Regions from separate parts of the Homo sapiens genome. Here region 1 is linked to region 2. The links are contacts of gene promoters, found by promoter capture Hi-C in human tissues and cell types (Jung and others, 2019). All regions are on one chromosome and are shown on one strand. Each heading gives the region's core, a stretch centred on a gene start or on the middle of the fragment in contact. The rest is flanking DNA. Distances are from core to core; before and after follow the strand shown.

Region 1 (6,024 bases), core at 701-3,200, 49 kb after region 2:
AAGTTGAGAATTTCTTTCTGGTCAGACATCTGTGAGAAATTATCTCTATTATCTTTGAAATTCTTCTTTCTTATTGTGTAATATACTTTGCTGAGGCAAGGTTTTCTCTTTCAATGCATTCTTTGTTTATAAGAAACTAAGTCAGTTGCAATAATTCTGTTGGACAATTTTCTTGCTTTCTGCTCCATCTTTTTTTCTCTAAAGAACAGATAAAAGAAATGAGAAAGAATAAGAATGCTATATTTCATTGGTATTTTTCAACTTTCTAAGATTTTGATGCTCAAAAAATTGTATAGAGGCATTCTTATGTACACACTGCTTTTATGTTTATTTGTTAGAATTGTTATATTCCTTCCCAGTAGAGAGGTACTTGCATAATATTTGTGGCATTTGTAAGTGGAAATCATATGTAACAATAATGCAAAATTACTCATAGGAAAATAACATTTCTGTGTGACCATCTGATGTTGACCATCAGAAGAGGGATTCACTTTGGGTTATTTGTCTAATGATATTGCCAGGTTTATCTTAATTTGTCCACAGCTTCTCCTAGCCTTTCTTGTCCCAAGGGCGCACATTGGCAAGAAGCTTGGGGTGGTCGGGGAAATAGTTTTTGTCCAGGAATTGAGTTAATTTGGCCCACATGACCCCCATGGTCATTTCTAAACTTCACAAAGAAAAAGTACATCATCAAAATAAATCCTAAAATTCACAATAGAACAAATATATAAATGTAGAAAACTATAGTTTCAGAACTGATTAAATAAAAGGAATCCTCAGATCAAAATGTCAGTTTTAACTATAGTGTTCACAGCTGCATGTTCCATAGCTATAAGCCACATGTGCTCTTTAAATTTACATTAAAACATTTAAATAAAACTAAAATTTAATTCCTCAATCACACCTGTCACATTTTAAGTGTTCATTAGCCACACATGGCTGATGTTGGTCAAATAACTTTTACTCTTGTTTTTTTTTAAGTTGTCTGTATACTTTGATCCTGAAAAACCTTTTTAGCTGGAGAGAGACTGTTCCCCCCTGGGCCAGCCAATTCTTAGAGATAACGAAGGACCCAGCCAGGAACGTGCCTTTGATATGAAAACAAACCAGTCCTAAACCAGACCTTCCCTATCTGGCCCATGCAGCTCAGGAAGCAATATTCCTCTGCCTTAATCATCCCAGGGCCAGGTACTAGGCAACTAGAGATCACTACTATAGGCCAAAGATCAACCAAATTATGCAAACGAACCAGTCCTAAACTGTTTACCCTGCCCTGTTCTGCTTTTCCCACTGAAACCCCAATGAAGGCTCTAGCCTCGGCTTTCTCCTCCTGTCTTTTGCTTCCTGACCACTCTGGTGTCTCTCCCATGTGGCCCTTCATGGCTTGCCATGCCTCCGGTCTCTGGGACCTGTGAGTACAAGAGACTTTGTTTTTTCCTGAGCCTCTCCTGTGTTTCCTTTTGTAGCTGCACATGCTCATCTCATAAAAGAATCAAGGGGGCCAGACATGGTGGCTCATGCTTGTAATCCCAGCACTTTGGGAGGAATTCAAGACCAGCCTGGCCAGTGTGGTGAAACCCAGTCTCTACTAAAAATACAAAAATTAGCTGGGCATGGTGGTGAGTGCCTGTAATCCCAGCTACTGGGGAGGCTGAGATGGGAGAATTGCTTGAACCCGAGAGGCGGAAGTTGCAGTGAGCCAAGATCGCACCATTGCGCTCCAGCCTGGGCAACAGAGTGAGACTCCATCTCAAGAAAGAAAGAAAGAACGAAAGAAAGAAAGAGAAGGAAGGAAGGGGAGAAAGAGAAAGAGAGAAAGAGAAAGAGAGAAAGGGAGAAAGAGAAAGAGGGAGAGAGAGGGAGGAAGGAAGGAAGGATGGAAATAAGGGAAATGCATACAGAAAGTTAACTGAAAAACAGAAGTTACATATGTTCATGTTATTCCCCAAACACACTTTAAAGAGTTGGCTTTTATTATTGTTTTATTTATTTATTTCTTTATTGAGATATAGTCTCACTGTGTTGCCCAGCTGGTCTCAAACTCCTGGGGTCCAGCAATCCTTCTGCCTCAGTTTCCTGAGTAGCTGGAACTACAGGTGCTCCCCACCCCACCTGGCTAGAGTTTATTGTTCAGGAATAAAGTTTAAGCTTTTGTGAGTGAGGAATATACTTATCCAACCCATTAGTGTTGAGCTTGTCCATGTAAATTATGCTGGCCAATGGCATGTTAGTGGACGCGGTGGGTCCAGAGGCTTGAAATGTGCTTGTTTTCTTGTTCTTCTGCCTCCATCATGAAAAGAGCCTGCCTTAGACAGCTGTTGGTCCAAAGAGGATGAAATACTCCTGGATCCAACCTGCAATTGAGATCCAAGCCTGCCAAACTCAGTCTATGTTGGCCCAATCCCAGGCAACCTGAGGATGCATGAGTGAAAATCAATTATTTGGTGTTGAATGCCAATCCATTTTGGGTTGATGTGCTATCTCATACCACGCTTACCCTTTCATCTTTTTTTTTTGAGACAGAGTCTCGCTCTGTGGCCCAGGATGGAGTGCAGTGGCGCAATCTCAGCTAACTGCAACCTTCACCTCCCAGGTTCAAACAATTCTCATGCCTCAGCCTCCTGAGGAGTAGCTAGGGCTACAGGTGCCCGCCACCACACCTGGCTAATTTTTGTATTTTTAGTAGAGATGGAGTTTCACCACATTGGCCAGGCTGGTCTCAAACTCCTGACCTCAGGTGATCTGCCCACCTCAGCCTCCCAAAGTGCTGGGATTACAGGCCACCACGCCTGGCCCCTTTCATCTTTTTTTTTTGTATCAATTGTTGTCTCTGCTTTGAATATTCTCCCTATCTTTGTCCACCTGGGTGAAATCCTTGGTATACTTCCAGCTCCACATTCAAATATCACATCTGCTGTGCAATCTTTCTGGATTTGTTTTCTTCTACCATCTAAATATAGTTGTAAGAAATATTTTTTAAAAAGCACCCAAACTTTAAACAAATTTTCTACTCACACTCACTATACAATACTTCACCTCTGGTCACTGACATGTGGGATTTCTTCCCACCAAAAAAAACCCCAATTCTCTGGTAGACATCAACTAAGTGTCATACAATGTAACTCAGAGTTAGTAGGCACTGCTCCATTATCTCATTTCCTGGATAGTATTTCTTGGCTGTAAAAGTGTTCATGATTTTTTTTTTTTTTTTTTTTTTTTTTTTTTTTTTTTTTTGAGACGGAGTCTCGCTCTGTCGCCCAGGCTGGAGTGCAGCGGCGCGATCTCGGCTCACTGCAAGCTCCGCCTCCCGGGTTCACGCCATTCTCCTGCCTCAGCCTCCCGCGTAGCTGGGACTACAGGCGCCCGCCACCACGCCCGGCTAATTTTTTGTATTTTTTAGTAGAGACGGGGTTTCACTGTGTTAGCCAGGATGGTCTCGATCTCCTGACCTCGTGATCCGCCCGCCTCGGCCTCCCAAAGTGCTGGGATTACAGGCGTGAGCCACCGCGCCCGGCCCTCATGATTTTTTTTGAAGTGTTCTTCTCCTTGTATAGTTCCAGTGTCTTCCAGTTGATTATTTTGTATTGGTTTGGGATTTATCTTTCCTGTACCTTTCTTCCTCAGCCATCTGGCAATCTGCTCGTGTGGAAGGGTGAGCCCTTCACAGCTGATTGGATGCTCCGAGTGCACAGGTGGGGCTTGGCAGCTTCAACTGTCTGGGCCCTTTGACTGGAAACCTCTCTGCTTCCTGTTGGGATGGTGGCTGGCGTTCTGGGAACCGCATGAGGAATGAGGCTGGGGGATGGGATAGGGCTGCCCCAGCATCCGCAGTGCCCACACTCATGTAGTTCTCCTGTTCTCAGTGTGACTCCTTGCTTTCCACTGAGTTCAGTGTCTCCTAACCAGATCCTGTATTCACCCTCTTGAAATGAATCTCTGGCTTTCTGCAGGGGAGGGCAGAAAGTCAGTGATCTGGCTAAACAGAGTTGGGGAGATCTGGGGATCTGACAATTCCTTAAACAGCTTTTTTCCAGTTCTCATTACTTCAGCCTTTTCCTCCATCTTCATGTCCAGAGGGGCCAGGTGTCACCAATTAATCAGCCTTTTGGGGATTCAATGGTAAAAATAGGGCAGGCCTTTGGCTTCCTCACTGCCAACCCAGCATTCGACTCCAGGGATCAGCGACCTTAGTGACCTCTCCAAAGTGCCCTTGCTGCATCTCCTCCCCCATTCTCCCTGTGCTCACCGCCCACGGTATTTTCATGAGTGTTCAAGCTGCTGCTTTTACACAGGAGTGCTGATCACGCCATCCTTCTCCAGCCATGCTCTTCTCTTGGCTTCTTGAGTGCCCCATACCTGGTTCCCTTGTCTCCCACTGGCACTCCTCTTGTTGCTGCCTCCCCCTCTTCCTCCTCCTCATCCTGTACGTGGGTGCTGCCACAGGACTTCAGCCAAGGCTCCCATTTGCCTCTGTCTATACTCTCCGAGTGATCTCCTCTGGTCTCATGGTTTTAAACAATATCTGTTTGCTGGTGACACCCAAATTTGCATCTCTAGCCCTGCTTTCTCCTATTTGAGTAGATACTAGAAGGAAATGAGAGTCAAGCTCCGTGGATGTCTGGGAGAGTGGAATTCTGGGCACAGGGGGCAACAAGTGCTGGTGCCAGAGATGCGGTCTGCCTGGCATATTGAGGAGCAGCTGGGATGACCTTGAGCAGGAAGGACATACGGTCTGGTGTCTGAGTTAGGAGTCTGTGGTGGCCACAGCCATCACCTACTACCCTGCTCTACAGGAGAACAGATGGTGAAAATAGTGGAGTGGAGCATGAGTGTACGAGGTCAATGCTAAGGGCATGACCAAGTCATGGGGCCTATCTGTAGGACATGAGAGTCACGGGACTGATGCCTACATACTTGATGGAAAACCCAGGTGTGAAAACAAGAAGACCAAAGGTAGAAAATAGAGTACGTCTCATGACCTTGCTACTCAGACTGTGGTCCCTGGACCAGCAGCATCCGCATCATCTAACCTGGGAGCTGGTTAGAAAGGCAGAATCTCAGGCCCATCCCAGACCAAATCAGTATTTGCATTTTGGCAAGAGCCTCAGATAATTTGTTTGTACATTGAAGTTTGAGAAACGCTGCCTTAAGTGCTCCCAGTGAAGGACCATTGGGCACTCGGAGGAGAGTAGGTGTCTGATGCTCACACAAGTTCCTGAAGATATTCTGCTCATGGTTTGAAAGGCCTATATGTTACTAGATTATACAGTCACCAACCATATAAGATCTAAGGGACACCCAGGCAGAGAGAGTCAGGGATGTAGCCCAGGGCATCCTGGCACTGGAGTGGACCTCAAAGCTTGGACTGGGTACCCCACAGGTTCCTTTCCAACACCAAGAATTTATGCTTCTATATACAATATCTTTGTACATTATCTTTGCCTCCTTGTGCAAGTGATTTCTGTAAGACACATTCCATAAGTGGGCATGCTTAAAATTTTCATAGATATTGCCAGATTTCTCAACAAAAAAGGACACCCATTTGCATTCCTGGTATCAGAACACATGTGTTCTCCACGCTGTTGCCAACATAACTTATTATCAATCTTTTACATTTTGGTACTTGGATACATTAAAAAGTTATATTTAGTGATTCAAATTTATGTTATTGGAAGGTTGGACATCTTTTCATGTGTATTGATCATTTGTATTTTTTGCCCTGTAATAAGTCTGTTCACATACTTCTCTAATTTTTTTAATAAGGTGGTTTTTCTCACTACTGATTTATGCAAACTTTTTGATAAGTGGGAAATTAATTTTGGTCTTTTTCATTACAGATATTTTCTTTTGATTTCATTTAAGACACACACACACACACACACACACACACACACACACACACACAAGCACAAACATACCTTTACAGTGTAGAAATGTAAAATTGTGGCCAGGCGCTTATGCCTATAAATCCCAGCACTTTGGGAGGCCGAGGTGGGCAGTCACTTGAGGTCAGGAGTTTCAGAC
Region 2 (6,180 bases), core at 843-3,342:
CGTATATGTACAGACACACACACATACACACACACACACACACACACACACACACACACACATATTTTAGAGACAGGATCTCACTCTGTTGCCCAGGCTGGAGTGCAGTGGCATGATCATAGCTCATTGCAGCCCTGAACTCCTGGGCTCAAGCAATCCTCTTGCCTCAGCCTCCGGAGTAGCTGGGACTACAGGCACACACTACCACACCCAGCTAATTTTTAAATACATGTTGTAGAAACGGGGTCTCACTATGTTGCCCAGGCTCAAGTGATCCTCCCACCTCAGCCTCCCAAAGTGCTGAGATTACAGGCACGAGCCACTGTGCCGACTTTAGATTGTACTTTCAATCTCCCCTCTTTGTTCTTTATTGCTCTGAGCTGGCACTGTCTTGGGGGCATTCTGCCATCCATTCTGAGGAATTCACTGGCTGCTGATCCTAAAGGGCTTTGCAGTAATGAGAGAGAGAGGAGGAGGAAGGAAGGGAAAGATGGAAACGTAGCAAAGGGACCCCTGCCTCCCCTATGTCCAGGGGTCAAGTGTGCTCCAGGCATCCTTTCCAATCTCACCCCTGGGGGACAGTGTGACCATCTGCTTATCCTACTGGCTTTTTATTGCATACTTTCTTCATGCCTGCCACCGTGTTAAGCTCTTCTCTGACATTGCCTAACTTAATTCTCACATAGAGTAGGTACATTATTATCCCCATGTTATAAATGTTGTCCTGGGATTCAGAGAAGTTAAGTAATTTGCCCAAGGCTGCACAGCGGGGAGGTGGCAGACCTGCACTGGGCTCTGTCTAATGCTGCACTGCATGTGTCCACTAGCCATGCCCCACTGCCCATCTGGGTTTCAGGAGAAGACAGTGCTCACACACTGTGCTTTTCACTCACTGGGTATGATGCCCCCTGAGCTGGGCAAAGGGCAAAGGGCAGGGCCCTTGAGGAATTTCGGAGAAAACGAGATGAAAGGGAAGACAGGAGGGCCTGGGGGAACACCAGGAGGGTCCCGGGTCAAGGTGGCCCTGGGACATCCGAAGGGCTGCCACTGATGTCATGGAAAAGCCCCTCACCCCACACCTTAAGGTTGCCTGTCACATTCGGCTCCTGAATCTACAATAGCCATCAAGGAAATCCACTTCCCAAGGCCGACTGTCAGGGCATTCTAGCACCTGGGTCTTTGCCTGTGTGGATTAGGGAAATGGAAGGAGTTCCCATACCGGAGCTTGCCTAAGCTGTCTCCTAGGCAAAGACTTACTGTGAGGCCATGGGGCCCCAGAGCTGGAGGAGGCTGACAGGGAGCTTGTTTCGCCCCTCACACACCCTCCACCACCCTGCTGCAGCTTCCCTAAAAGTGGCTAATGTTCCTCTGATAAAATGTTCAACTCTGATGCCACATTGCTCCTTATATTAAAAAAAAAAGGCAAAACACAGCTGAAGTGATCTCTAGAAGCACATCCAGTCATCTCTAGAAGCCTGCAAAGAGGCCTCACTGACCTTTCCTTGCTTGTAGACATCGCCTCGTCTTTGTCCCAGGGTGGCTATGAGCATCTGGACCCCCTCACCCCACTCTCTCTGCCTCCTGAGCACAGTGAACTCAGACTGACTTTCTCCAAAGAGATCCAAGCATGAAGCAAATATTCATTAGTCTCCTAAATAGGGCCATACTCCACATCATTCCTTTTTTAAGGAGAAATCTTAAATAAGATTAATGGCATAATAGATCATTTCAGGTGAGTCAAATAAAAAAAATAAAAGCACAGCATTCTTGAGAAAGAGATTAGTTTTCATAGGCAGAAGCTTAAAGGCAAAACAAAATCCCAACCCACAAACCCTAAAGTAGCATTTTATTATAGCACCAACTTAGAGAAAGGCAAGCCCAGTGATGACTGGGTATCCTCGCAAGTCTACCCTGAACTTGGGACCCATCCCCAGGTGTGGGAGTAAAGAAATCATTGCATGATTTTCAATCTGGGATCGAGCCTTGATAAGAAACCAGCAGTCCTGACCACAGAAGTGGCCCCCCACGTACCTTGGCTCTCTCTGGAGTGTGCCTCTGGAGCCTCGAGCTGCACAGTCCCCCAGCACACCCTCTTGGCAGCCAGGTCCGCCCAGCTATATAGGAGCTGCCGGGGGAGGTGGCATTCCTGCAGGTCTCCAAATAAGGCAGCCCTTCCCTCCCCGGCAGACCAATCAGGGCTTCCTGGACCACTCCTTCATCCTGAGAAGGATGGACCTTCTCATCACACTTTACTAAGGAAACCACGTGAAAATCTTGATGAAGTTCAGCAAGGCTTCAGAGGTGCCTTTTAGAATTGGAATGAGATGTGTTAGAAGGAAAATGCTTTTCCCATCAATATCTATGACAGATGTGGCTTCAACAAGCCTCGCTGGACATGCATAGTGTCCTGTACCTAAAGGCCGGCCTTGGACAGCAAAGCAGTCTTTGCTGACAGCCTCTGTGGGGAGGTTCAGCTCAAAAAGAGGGCAAGCGTTCACCTGGACCACCACGCCCTGAGGATGGGACCAACAGGGTGTGTGTGTGGTGGTGGGGGGGGGGGGCGCCGGGGGGCGGTTACACTTTCATCGGGTAGTGGGAAAACAGAACTGGTAGGTATGGGGTGGAAGACACGTGAGAAGACTTCCTGGCATGTTGGGCGAGGAATGCTTGAAGGACTGAATTAGCCCAAAGGCCAATAAGTTAAAGATCTGCGGGAACCCCGGGAGCAGAGACACATTGACACGCAGCCAGTCCCCTGGACAGGTGGTGCGGGCTGAGGGCGAGTTCTGCAGAGTGCCTTCTCCTCTACATGGTGTCCGAGCGCTGCGCAGAAGGGGCTGGAGGTGCATTCCTGGGCTTTCCAAAGCAAGAGACTCATTGGTATTGGGTGACCATTTTGGGCCTTATACAGAAGGGACTTGCTCAGGTGTCCCTGTTACAGTTAGTACTGCAAGGCAAAGTCAAAAGTGAATATGGGAGCAAGTATGGGGCCAGATTTTCCTGTAAACAGAATGCGATTTTTATGCTGAATGTGACCCCGTCAGTGTTCACGGTGGATTTGCGTCAGAGCAATTTTGCAAACCAAATTAAACGGTTGTTATCGAGAAGGACAGCAGATAGCGCCAGAGAGCTGACAAAGACCGCAGCCGGTCGGTGGGAAACCCGGGCTTCTGGGCTCTGGGTGGATTTGGGGCCTCCGGTTGGGCCTTTCTTTCTCCTCTGACTTTAACATTTGTTTCACTTCCCCACTTTTTTTTTTTTAAGAACTTTTCTATTTCCTTTCTAGAACCACAGACTTTTTGTGCTTCTGAATACACACAAAACAGAAACACAGTAGTGTAATCTTAGTACAGACTGTTTGCAAAATGGAGATGAAAAAATCAAAATCTCCTAATAGTTCAGTACCCAGAGACAAATGTCAGGACAATTTTGTTTCACATATAGATACTTAGGGCCACAGTGTTTAGAGCTAGAAAGGACTCAGAATTCTGTGGTCCAGCTCCTTTGCATGGTGAGCTCACAGGCCCAGATAGGCTCAAGGTCACCCAGCCAGGCCGGCAGTGCAGCCTCGGCAGGCTCGTTGTCCCATTGTGAACTCTGTGCACTATCCCCCTGCCTGTTCCCACTAGACACAATCATCTCCAACCCCCTCCACCCCTCTTCTTCCTATTCCCTTTCTAAGCAGGACTTTACCCAGAGAATGGTGGGAGGTTGGTTTAGAGCTGACGTGGCAGCAGATTCCTCTTGTTAGTGAACAAAAGGCTGTTTACAAAGGCACAGAGGAATGGGGAAGACTGAAATTGCTACAGAAGCAGGGAGGAGCTCTGGAAGCTGCAAACAAGGCAAGAAAACAATAAGCAGATGTGGAGAATGTGGAGCCGACCCAATGCTGCCTCGCATCCTCCCTCCCTGCCTGTAAAGATCGACAAACAGACCAAGGAATTAGTGTGAGAACATTCATTTCTTCAAAAGAACTGAGAGACCAGGGCCAAGTGAATTACACTATGTTACATAAAGTGGATTATATTATATAGTCTGGGAAATAGAACTGTGTGTAGATCATCTTTGAGAAAGCAGGAAGAATGAGATGGAGACCACAGATCTGGGTGTTCTATGATGCAGGGGTCTATGACATAGTTCTCTAGATCGCGTAAATAATAGAAAATTATGCCAGTTTCTAAAAACGCAACAGGGAATGGCTGAATTCTAGAATGCATGAATGGGTCATTATTTGATCAATTTCCAGCTTTGATTAGACCTTGGACCAGTTTGAGAGCATTTATAGGTGAATACAGTGATCGTTTGGATATAACCTAGCAGGCCAAATTAACTATACCAGGGAGATTACTGTTTGGCAAGATTACCAACCATATTTGTGCCAGGAAAAGAAGAACACAAGAAGGATAAGCCAGGTTCCATTGCTGGCCCATGGCCTAATGGTAGAGAAATCGCTGAAATGTGATTTGGAAAATAATACTTATTTAGCTGTGTAGCTACCTAAACAGCTGTTACAGTCTGAATGCTTGTGTCCCTCAACAACTCATATGTTGAAATTCTCACCCCCGAGGTAATGGTAATGGAGGTGGATCTTTGGGAGGTGATTAGGTCATATGGGTGAAGCCCTTATGATTGGGATTAGTGCCCTTATAATAGAGGCCTGAGAGTACTCCCTTGTCCCTTCTGCCATGTGGGCACACAGTGAAAGATGGCCATCTATGAACCACAAAGTGGGTTCTCACCAGACACCCAATCTGCTGGCACCTTGATCTTGGACTTGCCAGCCTCCAGAACAGTGAGAAATAAATGTGTGGTGTTTATAAGCCACCCAGTTTATGATATTTTATTATAGCAACCTGAATGGACTAAGACAATAGACATACTTAATTTTTTCTTTTTATTCAAGTCTGAGATCCACACAAAGGTGCACATATTTGCAATGTCCAGCATTATGGTTTTTTTTTTTTTTTAGATGGAGTCTCACTCTGTCACCCAGGCTGGAGTGCGGTGGCGCCATCTCGGCTCACTGCAACCCCCGGCTTCCAGGTTCAAGCGATTCTCCTGCCTCAGCCTCCCGAGTAGCTGAGACCACAGGCATGGGCTACCACACTCGGCCAATTTTTTGTATTTTTAGTAGAGATGGGGTTTCACCGTGTTAGCCAGGATGGTCTGGATCTCCTGATCTCGTGATCCACCCGCCTCGGCCTCCCAAAGTGCTGGGATTACAGGCATGAGCCACCACACCCGGCCCAGCATTATGTATTTTTACAAACCAAATACACCATTGTAACCTGCACCTAGATTAGGAAACTGAGCATGACAGCACACTCCAAGCTCCTCATGGCCTCTTCACGCCACAATTCCCTCCCCTATGCTGACCACTTTTCTGAGTCCCATGCCATAGATTAGTTTTGCCTGGTTTTGTATTTCATATACATAGAATTATATAGAATATAATCTTCTGTGTCTGTGTTTTGCTCGAATTACGTATTTGAGGTTCACCCACATTGTGTGTAGTTATAGATCATTCATTCCATTGTAAGAATATTCCACAACCTACTTATCCATTTCCCTGTTGATGGACATTTGGGCGGTTTCTCATTTGGGATCTTATGAATAGTGTTGTCATGAATATTCCTGCATGTTCTTCTTGGTGCCCATATTTCTGTTGAATATATACTCAGGAGTAGATTTGCTGGGTCATAGAATATGCCTATTTTTCAGCTTTTACTATTTTAGAATTTGGACTATGGCTTTTTTAAAATCTTAAATTCACCCTCCTTTACGGTTTGCCCACTCTTCTGCTCCCAAACCCAGCCGCGAGTCTCCATGTGGTTCCTTTGCCACTTGGCACAGAGCCTATTACTGTAGTCACCGGAGCCTCCCATTCACACATTCTGCTGAGCTCATAGAAGTTGAAGGACTGTGTTTCATTCACATGTGTTTGCCTGGCACCTAGCACAGTGCCTGGAATCTAGATGCATCTAGATTCCCTTTATCCCTTGTTGATCGGTGACGGTCCACATCGCAGTTGGTTGGAATACACAAAAGCAGCAAGAGCAAATTTTACAGGGATAAGGGAGACAGTTTTACAGTTGTTGCGGTTGTCTTTTAAATCAAGGGCAGCATGTTGAAGACCCGTCATGGTGGTAGTTGAGATTCTGTGGTATAGAGTTGTTTAGA

What was found. The method cuts DNA at HindIII sites, captures the fragments that hold promoters and counts their contacts. A contact is called where the count stands out against the background at its distance.
Region 1: a fragment that was not itself captured here is called in contact with the fragment with the promoter of PRND in region 2 in 3 of the 25 tissues and cell types used here (dorsolateral prefrontal cortex, ovary and spleen).

The regions. Positions count from the first base shown.
Region 1 is chr20:4,668,951-4,674,974 of GRCh38, reverse strand. No RefSeq gene overlaps it. Among named protein-coding and RNA genes, the nearest start is that of PRNP, 14 kb to the left of the region's middle. RefSeq lists a cis regulatory region at 826-1,510. The HindIII fragment of the contact is 3,609 bases long and covers 146-3,754 here.
Region 2 is chr20:4,717,821-4,724,000 of GRCh38, reverse strand. PRND (prion like protein doppel) reads right to left here and starts at 2,092. Exons shown (of 2, transcript NM_012409.4): 1 at 2,032-2,092. RefSeq lists an enhancer at 3,170-3,389. The HindIII fragment of the contact is 13,371 bases long and covers 359-6,180 here.